Linked DNA regions of Homo sapiens: all the other regions are linked to region 4. Evidence: promoter capture Hi-C in 16 types of primary human blood cells and fetal thymus (Javierre and others, 2016). All regions are on one chromosome and are shown on one strand. The core of a region is centred on a gene start or on the middle of the fragment in contact, and the rest is flanking DNA. Distances in the headings are between cores, read along the strand shown.

Evidence for each region. Contacts are between HindIII fragments. The CHiCAGO score rates a contact against its expected background, and 5 or more counts as called.
Region 1: a contact is called between a fragment that was not itself captured here and the fragment with the promoter of KRTCAP3 in region 4, in 2 of 17 cell types (endothelial precursors and megakaryocytes). The highest score is 11.5, in endothelial precursors.
Region 2: a fragment that was not itself captured here is called in contact with the fragment with the promoter of KRTCAP3 in region 4 in 2 of 17 cell types (endothelial precursors and erythroblasts); the score reaches 5.2 in endothelial precursors.
Region 3: a fragment that was not itself captured here is called in contact with the fragment with the promoter of KRTCAP3 in region 4 in 1 of 17 cell types (megakaryocytes); the score reaches 5.9 in megakaryocytes.

Annotation. Positions count from the first base shown.
Region 1 is chr2:27,645,216-27,647,915 of GRCh38, forward strand. It overlaps GPN1 (GPN-loop GTPase 1), which reads left to right. Exons shown (of 14, transcript NM_007266.4): 13 at 2,621-2,700. It also overlaps a transcript of SUPT7L not described here. Among named protein-coding and RNA genes, the nearest start is that of SUPT7L, 17 kb to the right of the region's middle. The HindIII fragment of the contact is 2,121 bases long and covers 247-2,367 here.
Region 2 is chr2:27,666,571-27,669,270 of GRCh38, forward strand. SLC4A1AP (solute carrier family 4 member 1 adaptor protein) reads left to right here. Exons shown (of 14, transcript NM_018158.3): 3 at 698-820; 4 at 2,273-2,333; 5 at 2,678-2,700. Among named protein-coding and RNA genes, the nearest start is that of SLC4A1AP, 4.0 kb to the left of the region's middle. The HindIII fragment of the contact is 2,905 bases long and covers 1-2,700 here.
Region 3 is chr2:27,596,877-27,599,576 of GRCh38, forward strand. It overlaps ZNF512 (zinc finger protein 512), which reads left to right. Exons shown (of 14, transcript NM_032434.4): 3 at 1,191-1,378. Among named protein-coding and RNA genes, the nearest start is that of ZNF512, 15 kb to the left of the region's middle. The HindIII fragment of the contact is 2,753 bases long and covers 41-2,700 here.
Region 4 is chr2:27,440,956-27,443,655 of GRCh38, forward strand. KRTCAP3 (keratinocyte associated protein 3) reads left to right here and starts at 1,426. Exons shown (of 7, transcript NM_173853.4): 1 at 1,426-1,485; 2 at 1,624-1,808; 3 at 1,887-1,946; 4 at 2,119-2,325; 5 at 2,443-2,577. The coding sequence starts at 1,458. It overlaps NRBP1 (nuclear receptor binding protein 1), which reads left to right. Exons shown (of 18, transcript NM_013392.4): 15 at 172-225; 16 at 312-375; 17 at 612-667; 18 at 753-1,304. The coding sequence ends at 857. RefSeq lists an enhancer at 1,561-2,103. The HindIII fragment of the contact is 10,159 bases long and covers 1-2,700 here.

The DNA.
Region 1 (2,700 bases), core at 57-2,556, 200 kb after region 4:
CTGTCTTGGCCTCCCAAGGTGTTGGGATCATAGGCATAAGCCACCATCCCCAGCCCATTTTTTTTTTCTTTTAACTTGCTTTGGTGAGCAAGGACTCCTTACTTTTATGCCTGTACCATGTTGTTTTAATTATGTAATTATGTTTCAATATCTGCTAGATCAGATTCTCCTCCTAATTTTTATTTGGCTGTCCTTACATGTTCTTCCATATGAACTGAGTATCAACTTTATCTAGTTCCTTAAAAAAGCTTTTTGGTATTTTAGTTGGGATTACATTATATTCATAATTAATTTAGGGAGAAGTGACATCTCTATGATGTTCAGTCTTGCTACCCAAGACCACAGAGTGTCTTTGTATTTGTCAGGTCTACTTGTGTCTTTCAGGAGTGTTTCCAGTTTTCCATATATAGGTTTTTCTTATTTCTTTTTAAAATGTTTTTGTTATTTTAGCCAACCTTTTTGACCAAGAGTTTTTGCCTGTTTCTTTTTAATTTTTTTTTTTTAAAACAAATCATCTTTATGTATTTGTTTTGAGACAGGGTCTTGCTCTGTCACCCCAACTGGAGTGCAGTGGTGTGATCTTGGCTCACTGCAGCCTCTGCCTCCTGGGTTCAAGCTATTCTCCTGCCTCAGCCTCCCAAGTAGCTGGAACTAGAGGTGCCTGCCACCATGCCGGGCTAAATTTTGTATTTTTAGTGGAGATGAGGTTTTGCCGTGTTGCCCAGGCTGGTCTCGAACTCCTGGGCTCAAGTGATCTGCCCACCTCAGCCACCCAAAGTACTGGGATTACAGGTGTGAACCACTGTACCCAGCTTGAAATTTATGTATGTATGTATTTATTTTTGAGGCAGAGTCTTGCTCTGTCACCTAGGCTGGAGTGCAATGGCGCGATCTCGGCTCACTGCAACCTCCGCCTCCCGGGTTCAAGCGATTGTTGTGCCTCAGCCTCCTGTGTAGCTGGGACTACAGGCACATGCCACCACGCCCAGCTAATTTTTGCATTTTTAGTAGAGACAGGGTTTTGCCATGTTGGCCAGGCTGGTCTTGAACTCCTGACCTCAGGTGATCTGCCCATTTCAGCCTCCCAAAGTGCTGGGATTACAGGCATGAGCCACCATGCCCAGCCCCAGCTTGAAATTTATTCTAAGTATTTAACCTTCTTCATTACTGTTGAAAATGGGATTTTCTGGACCGTTACATCTTATAACTGGTTTATGTTTGTATGTATGAAGGCTTTTGATTTCTGTATATTCATCTTTTATCCTGCTACTTTACTGAATTAAAAATTTTTTTTTAGTTTTATCATTGGCTCTGCAGGGGTTTTTAGGTTAGTTTTCATTTACAGCCCACCTTCCACCCCCACCCCTGTATATTGAGGGACTGCCCTCAAGATTCAGATGCAAGTCTATTGCAGCTTAGTGGAATCCTGCAACCAAATTGACTGTACTTAAAAGAAAAGCTCCATTTATTTATTTATTGTAATAAATTGTACATTTATTTTTTCTTCTCATCAGCAACACTAGCATTTTTTTTTTCTGGGACATCTTTCTTAAAGGAGTGATGCTTCTGTTCATGAAAGTTATTGCTCTATATCTAGTAGAGAACAGCAAAGCTAGTAACGGACTGGGTTTACCAGTTAAGTGTACTCACTTGTGCCATCCTGTTGTACAGCTCAGCAAAATACATTTCTATGTGCCACAGTCCTTTAGAATCACTTCTGAATATGTGAAGTCAATGTTAAAACTACTGCTGCAAAGGGTCTGCTGTAGTCAGCTAACCTGTTGAAGGTTGGGAGAGTTTAAGTAAATCATTTGAGGAAAGTCACAAGTATAGTTGCATAATTGTTAGGCACAGAATGAAGCATTTACTGTCAGCATGTCCTGTCATCCTCCTTTTTCAGGCCCACAGGCCCCTTGAGATTTGTGCCAGTTGATGTTGCTGTCTCTGGCCACCCTTATTCCCTAGCTGAGCTCTCGCAAGCCTCATAGGCTCCTGAAGAGAGAGTGACTATGTCCTCCCATGGCAGTAGTGACTTGATTAGACTTCTCTCTGATTACTGGAGCTCAGCCCTCACTAGTTTTTCTGAATAGGGAATTTTACTTCTATTAGTGTATTTGATTTTCTATTTTTCCCCTCCCTCCTCTTCTTAAATAATACCCTGGCTCCTTGATAACATTTCACCCTGTATTTTCTGCAGACCTTCTCTGAACTTACATTTCCACCAGGAGGCTTCCTTAGCACTCCACACTTTCACTGTGACTCACCAGCACACTGGATCTGCTCAAATGTTGTTAGCTTTCATAGGAAAAACCATCACCCCTTCCAAGCTGTGAGCCAGTAAAAAAGAATGATGCTACTAGTAAGACAAGCTTCTTGAAAATTATTTCCCTCAGCTTAAAAAAATGGGACTCCTAGGGCTATTTGCCTTATGAAAGCACTTTGTGAACTAAGCTATTATAGAAATGTTAAGTGGTATTAACAATACATTTAGAAGAGGTAAGATCCTGCGTTTATATGTATCATGAGCACTTTCATCCTGCCAGTTTATGATCATAGTTACTTAGTGATTCAAGATCACCTTTTTGAGGAGGCATATCACTGATAGGTGTTTTCACTGTAGACAGCTTATCTCCTGTGCTGCACCCTTCTGATTTGATCCTGACTCGAGGAACCTTGGATGAAGAGGATGAGGAAGCAGAC
Region 2 (2,700 bases), core at 68-2,567, 230 kb after region 4:
AGATATAAGAAGTATTAGGAAATTATATTGGGAACGAAAGTTAGATATGAGTGTGAGAGAACAAGAATGCCAGGCTGAGGAGCTCAAATTTTTTTTCCACAATGTGGTAGGTAATTTTACTTTTAAAATATAATGATGGAGAAAAAAAAATTAAGGTGCCATGAAAACAAGTTTTGACTTGTCACACAATTTAGAAAACCTGAATATGCTCATACTAGTGGTTTTGTGGTGGTTGTTCCACCCCCTGTCCCTGCAAGTATTTATTATTTTTCATCACAGATAAACTATATATATATATATATTTTTTTTTTTTTGGGAGACGGTCTCACTGTGTTGCTTGGGTTGGAGTGCAGGTAGCGCGATCTTGGCTCACTACAACTTCTTCCTCCCAGGTTCAAGCAATTCTCCTGCCTCAGCCTCCCAAGTAGCTGGGATTACAGACACCCGCCACTGTGCCCAGCTAATTTTTTTTGTATTTTTAGTAGAGATGGGGTTTCACCATGTTGGCCAAGCTGGTCTTGAACTCCTGACCTTGTGATCCACCTGCCTTGGCCTCCCAAAGTGCTGGGATTACAGGCATGAGCCACTGCGCCCAGCCTAAACTATATCTTTATGCAGCCTGAGAGAATAGTGGGTATCATTCAAATAGTCTCTTCTCATGTCTGATTATCTTTTCTTTCTTTTCCATATCCTGTAGGAGAAGATGCAGTAGAGGATGATGCTGAAGAGAACCCTATTGTCTTAGAGTTTCAGCAGGAAAGGGAGGCCTTTTATATAAAGGATCCCAAAAAGGCTCTCCAAGGCTTTTTTGACCGAGAAGGTATGTAAACAGATTCTGACCCTACCACTAAAACATATCCAGAGCAGTGTGGTTTTCTAGAGCTTCATGTTGAGCTTTATACTAAGATATGCTATAATTTTATTGCTGTCCTTCTTGTTCACTTTTTACTCTTGTGGTCAGTTGCTTTAGGTTTATTTTGAAAATTATTCCTCATTAGTATGGCAGAGGGGAAAAAAATCATAAAAATCTTGTTAGTCTTTCTTCTTATCTTAAAAAAAGGAAGTACTTTTTCCTGACTCATCTCATTCTTCTCAAAAGATCCTGGACTTTGGTGGTGGGGAAATTGAGCCAACTTCCTGTAGTTTTTTAATTCCGAATTCACCTGATCTTTTGTAATTCCTAACATAGGTTTTGATTTTATATTATATGATTTAAAATTTTTTTTCCATAGAGGATTGTTTTGGTAGGAATACTTTGAGAGAATATCTATGTATATGTATGTATATCTGTATATATTTTATATGTATATATAAATAATATATGAAATAGCTGTGCACTTAATATCTGTGCTTCTAAAAACCAGGCAACTGTGTTAAAATAACCACTAAAGTCTACAACTTATAAAAGTGAAACATACTATACAGTGAACAGAGCTATGTATGGAGAATTGGTTACTTTGATCTGAGTTTGTTTTTTTCTCTGCCTCAGACTTACTCTAATTTTATTATCAGACAATAATCCCTAGGAATGAGAAGTGAAATGCATTGAAATTTATTATTCAGTGTGGTATGGGAACTTGTTCTTTTTTTTTTTTTGAGACGGAGTCTCGCTCTGTTGCCCAGGCTGGAGTGCAGTGGTGCGATCTCGCCTCACTGCAAGCTCCGCCTTCCGGATTCACGCCATTCTCCTGCGTCAGCCTCCCGAGTAGCTGGGACTACAGGCGCCCGCCACCACGCCCGGCTAATTTTTTTTGTATTTTTAGTAGAGACGGGGTTTCACTGTGTTAGCCAGAATGGTCTCGATCTCCTGACCTCGTGATCCTCCCATCTCGGCCATCCAAAGTGCTGGGATTACAAGCGTGAGCCACCGCGCCCAGCCAGAACTTGTTCTTTTTTTGAGACAGGGTCTCACTCTGTCGCCCAGGCCGGAGTGCAATGGCGCAATCTTGGCTCACTGCAACCTTGACCTCCTGGGTTTAAGCTATGCTCCGGCCTTAGCCCCCGTAGTAGCTGGGACAAAAGTCACGTACCATCATGCCCGGCTAATTTCTGTATTTTTTGTACAGATGGGGTTTTGCCATGTTGCACAGACTGGTTTCGCGCTCCTTAACTCAAGCTGTCATCCCGCCTCAGCCTCCCAAAGTGTTAGGATTACAGGCGTGAGCCACTGCTAGGAACTTGTTCGTATTTAACGTTTGTTCTCATTTATCATTGTATCAACTAGTAATTTTTGGATTCTATTAAAATTGTTTTGTCTGTCTTTCTCCCACAGGAGAAGAATTAGAATATGAATTTGATGAACAGGGACATAGCACTTGGCTCTGCAGGGTGAGGTATGCTCTTTTCTTATTAATGTTCTTTTCTGGAAAATGGCCAATTTCAGGTTTAATGTATGGTTATAGATAACAACCCAAAGAGTAACTTTCATCTAAGTTTAAGCTATTTCTAAATTTGAGCCTTTATCGTTTAGTAACCCTTATATTATTGGAGAGTGGGGTGGGATGGGTAAGAAATAGAAAGAAAATATTTTAAATCCAACATTGGAAAGATAGAACAAGATGGATTCAAAGACTGAAAGGCCATCTAAAAAAAAAATGACTATTATCATAGCATAGTAGTTGTTTTCTTGAGAATTGGAGCTTAATGCTGTGCTATAATTCCCACCAAATCAATGAAGATTACCTGTGGACGATTCAACTG
Region 3 (2,700 bases), core at 167-2,666, 160 kb after region 4:
GATGTTTGCACTTAAATATTTATGACTCCTTTAAAAAATAAGCTTTAAAATAAGCTGCTTTATGTGTGGATTTGTTTTTAGCTTGCTGAACTGACATTGTGCTAGAGATACTGTTTTGTTTCTTTTTTCATTCAACAATATACTTTTTAGTTATGGTCGTGTCTCTATGTGTAGAATTAGTTTATTGCTTCTAACAGCAGCACAGTATTCCATAGTAGGCATCTATCACATTTTGCAAGGATGGTCACTGTGTTACTTCCAACTCCCTGATGTCATAAGCAAACCTCTCTATGTGTAATTCTTATTAGCTCTACATCTAAAGTGTTACCTTGAATCTGCCAATTCAAGTTAACTTTTTTCCTTTTGTTTACTCTTTCTCCCATGGGCTGTCTCCATAGAGCAGCCAGAAGGATCTTTCTGAACCATAAATCTAAAGTAGGCCTCACAGGTATTTAGCTGGAAAAGGGAGGTTCTAGGAGTCCATTGACCACTCTTGGAGAACTGCTGCTCTGCTGCATCTTGAGCCACCTAGAAGAATGTCTGATGCTTTGTAGTTACAGAGTAATGTTTTTTAGCTGTCATACTGACTGGTCTTAGATTTTGGAATCTGGATTCAGCTGTATACCAGAAATCTCTGGCCAGGTTAATTCATGCAAGATAGCATCCATCCTTTAGCTGTGGAAGCTAAGTATCATGTTGCCTAAATAAGATAGGGCATCAGGTTTTAGGGAGAATGCTGAGGCAGAAGGAAGATGAGTCAGATTAGGGCCCACAGACTATTCCTTTCCCTTAGAGATACCCTTTAGTTGCCATCCCTCTGTCAGAGAAAGAGAGAGGCTGGGACATACCAGGTTACAAATCCAGGGAGTCTTCTGAAGGGTCATAGAACACCTTTATTGCTTCACCTACTTTCTTTTATTAGATGAATCTAGGAAGGAATGTCTACTTGGGCTGCAAAGTGATCATTTATGTGTACTGCTTACTCTTATTACAATGAAGTGTGATAATAATTGTACATGTTGTGTTAGATCAACTATTGTTATTGTTAGGTGATTACAACTTACATTCTGTTTTTATAGCAGGCTTCTTAGTTTTCTGCAGAGGTAACCAACTTGGTTATAATGTAAAAGAATGTATAGAAATTTTGCTCCAGACCTTCCTTTGTGGTATATATTTTTATGTTGTATTAGTAGCAGGACCCAGTGCTCCATAAAGGATAATAGTTTCCAGTACACTATCCCTCATGATGACTCCTTAAGTGGTTCATCGTCTGCATCTTCGTGTGAACCAGTGAGTGATTTTCCAGCATCTTTCCGAAAATCTACCTACTGGATGAAGATGAGAAGAATCAAGCCAGCTGCTACTTCTCATGTCGAAGGTATCAATATCAGTGTCTTATTCTGAAGACGGGCCACTTCCTAAAGTTATAGTTTGAGATTGTTATAAATACCTCTTAAAAGTATTAAATGGCGGCTGAGCGTGGTGGCTCACGCCTGTAATCCCAGCACTTTGGGAGGTCGAGGCGGGCGGATCACAAGGTCAGGAGATCGAGACCATCCTGGCTAACATGGTGAAACCCCGTCTCTACTAAAAATACAAAAAATTAGCGGGGCCTGGTGGTGGGCGCCTGTAGTCCCAGCTACTCAGGAGGCTGAGGCAGGAGAATGGCATGAACCTGGGAGGCAGAGGTTGCACTGAGCAGAGATCGCACCATTGCACTGTAGCCTGGGCGAAAGAGCGAGACTCCGTCTCAAAAAAAAAAAAAAAAGAGTATGAAATGCCACATATTTGTTTCTCATTAGTGATTTAAAAAAATTTAAGGTGTTAGGCAATTGCATCCTGTCCCATTAGCTTCATGAACTGCTATGTGATAGAGTGAAATTCTGCTAATCTTACTCCTCTAGATTATATTTAGCATTTGATTTTCCTCTTTGTAGTATTTGAATTCCCCTTTTCTTCTTCTTTTTTTTTTGAGACGGAGTTTCACTCTTCTTGCCCAGACTAGAGTGCAATGACTCGAGCTCAGGCTCACCGCACCCTCCTTCTCCTGGGTTCAAGCGATTCTCCTGCCTCAGCTTGTAATGCCAGCTGAGTAGCTGGGATTACAGGCATGTGCCACCACACCTGGCTAATTTTGTATTTTTAGCAGAGACGGGGTTTCTCCATGTTGGTCAGGCTGGTCTTGAACTCCTGACCTCAGGTAATCCGCCCACTTTGGCCAAAGTCTGTAATCTCAAAGTGCTGGGATTACAGATGTGAGTCACCATGGCTGGCCCCCCTTTTCTTCTAGTGTGATCCTCTGTTGATGATTTAGGGGCTGGTGTAAGGATTATTCAGGGGAGAATATTCTGGATCGTCACAATCTCAAGGGTCCTTGGTGGCTAGCCCTCTATCTTGAGCAATTCTTATCCTCTTGTTAGCCTCAAGTCAAGATTAAGCAAAACACATTGCTTGAATGCCCTTATTATTCATAAGGAACAATGGATGATTTGGAATAGATAACAATATAAAAAGAAAGGGAGAGTGGGTCAGTTAATGAGAAGTTACACCAACTTCTCTAAAAATGTCACAGACATTTCTCTGAGGCCTGTGTTCACTGATGATCTTTCCTTTTGATGGTCTTGTGAATGATGTTTTGAAGACAGGCCTAGATGTTCATTTACAAAGTGTGCTGAGTTTTTGTTTTGTTTTTGTATGGTA
Region 4 (2,700 bases), core at 176-2,675:
GTGTGGATTGTCTCCATGGTTGTGGTGGAAGGGAGAGAGGACATCTCAAATAAGGCTCTATCCTTTAGAGAAAATGCTCCCTAGCAGCCATGCCCTATGGGCTCGAAAGACGTCTAGGTATTGGGTTTTTTATGGACAGGTCTCTAGAGTGACCCTCTCTTCCCTCCCTAGGTGGTGCTGATGCAGTGCAACATTGAGTCGGTGGAGGAGGGAGTCAAACACCACGTAAGGCTCAGGGCTAGGGTTGCGCAGGGCTAGTAGCCAGAGGGTAGGGAAGAAAAGTCTCATTTTCTGACTGTCCTATTCTCCAGCTGACACTTCTGCTGAAGTTGGAGGACAAACTGAACCGGCACCTGAGCTGTGACCTGATGCCAAGTGAGTCTCTCCTTTCCCTCAGAGGATGGAGAGTCTATGAGCCTTATCTTTTAGGGACATATTCAGGGGTGGGGGAGGTGACAAGGCAGTAACACATTGACTCACATAGAATGACTATCTTAGACCCTAAAGCAGTGGGTGGATCTGACTGACAGTTTAGCCCTAGTGGGGCTGTCTGAAGGGCCCCAGGTCCCTCAGTCCCGTACTGTACTCACCCCCTCCTGTTTCTTTGTCAGATGAGAATATCCCCGAGTTGGCGGCTGAGCTGGTGCAGCTGGGCTTCATTAGTGAGGTGAGGTTTCTGCCTTCATCTGCCCTGGCTGCCCCCATGCCTTCTCTTCTCTCAGCCCCCATCTTACTGAGCTCTTCTCCCCCAGGCTGACCAGAGCCGGTTGACTTCTCTGCTAGAAGAGACCTTGAACAAGTTCAATTTTGCCAGGAACAGTACCCTCAACTCAGCCGCTGTCACCGTCTCCTCTTAGAGCTCACTCGGGCCAGGCCCTGATCTGCGCTGTGGCTGTCCCTGGACGTGCTGCAGCCCTCCTGTCCCTTCCCCCCAGTCAGTATTACCCTGTGAAGCCCCTTCCCTCCTTTATTATTCAGGAGGGCTGGGGGGGCTCCCTGGTTCTGAGCATCATCCTTTCCCCTCCCCTCTCTTCCTCCCCTCTGCACTTTGTTTACTTGTTTTGCACAGACGTGGGCCTGGGCCTTCTCAGCAGCCGCCTTCTAGTTGGGGGCTAGTCGCTGATCTGCCGGCTCCCGCCCAGCCTGTGTGGAAAGGAGGCCCACGGGCACTAGGGGAGCCGAATTCTACAATCCCGCTGGGGCGGCCGGGGCGGGAGAGAAAGGTGGTGCTGCAGTGGTGGCCCTGGGGGGCCATTCGATTCGCCTCAGTTGCTGCTGTAATAAAAGTCTACTTTTTGCTAAAAGCGTCGTGTGTTCGCGCCTTTCCCGCCAGGGGGAGCGGGCCCGGGGCGGAGGCGGGGCCCAGGTGGGAGGGGGACCCGGGACGGAGGCGGGGCCCAGGTTGGGGCGGGGCCGGGCCCAGGTACAGCGGCCCTGCGGCTGGCGCGGCGGACGGGATGAGGCGCTGCAGTCTCTGCGCTTTCGGTAACTTCCGGGCCCTGGCGTCTCGTCTCCTTACCCTGGGGCTACCCTTGCCCCGTCCTACTGCCCGCGGTTAACCCGCCGCGAGCCGCCTCTCCCCTCCCCGCCCGACTCAACCCTGCCCTCCCCCGTGCTTTGCAGACGCCGCCCGGGGGCCCAGGCGGCTGATGCGTGTGGGCCTCGCGCTGATCTTGGTGGGCCACGTGAACCTGCTGCTGGGGGCCGTGCTGCATGGCACCGTCCTGCGGCACGTGGCCAATCCCCGCGGCGCTGTCACGCCGGAGTACACCGTAGCCAATGTCATCTCTGTCGGCTCGGGGCTGCTGGTGAGCGCGGCAGGCGACCCGGGCGGGGGCCGGGCTCCCGGAGAGCCCAGCAGGCCAAAGGCTTTGTGTCTTCCACAGAGCGTTTCCGTGGGACTTGTGGCCCTCCTGGCGTCCAGGAACCTTCTTCGCCCTCCACTGGTGAGAGGGACTTCCCTGGAGCTTTTAACGAGTAGGCTTGAGTCAGGGAAATGGGGGCTGACTGAGCTTGGTCTTTCAATAGATTGGAGGAGCCTCAGAGAAACTGGGTGTCTAGTCACTGGGAGAGTTAGCCAGGCCCAGGCTGCTCACCCTGATCTCCTGTCCCTGCCAGCACTGGGTCCTGCTGGCACTAGCTCTGGTGAACCTGCTCTTGTCCGTTGCCTGCTCCCTGGGCCTCCTTCTTGCTGTGTCACTCACTGTGGCCAACGGTGGCCGCCGCCTTATTGCTGACTGCCACCCAGGACTGCTGGATCCTCTGGTACCACTGGATGAGGGGCCGGGACATACTGACTGCCCCTTTGACCCCACAAGAATCTATGTGAGCACATTCTCTTCCTTCTTGTGGTCTACAAAGCCTTGGTCCTGCCCTTTTAATTTCCCCTATTTGCTGCACTTGCCCTACTCCCTCCTACTCCCCATCCTTCTTGCTTTTCAGGATACAGCCTTGGCTCTCTGGATCCCTTCTTTGCTCATGTCTGCAGGGGAGGCTGCTCTATCTGGTTACTGCTGTGTGGCTGCACTCACTCTACGTGGAGTTGGGCCCTGCAGGAAGGACGGACTTCAGGGGCAGGTAAGGAAGGCAAACAGGAAGGGTTCATTCCACAGAGACTGGCTGTGTTGAAAAGATGCTGACCGGCCGGGTGCGGAGGCTCACACCTGTAATCCCAGCACTTTGGGAGGCTGAGGCAGGCGG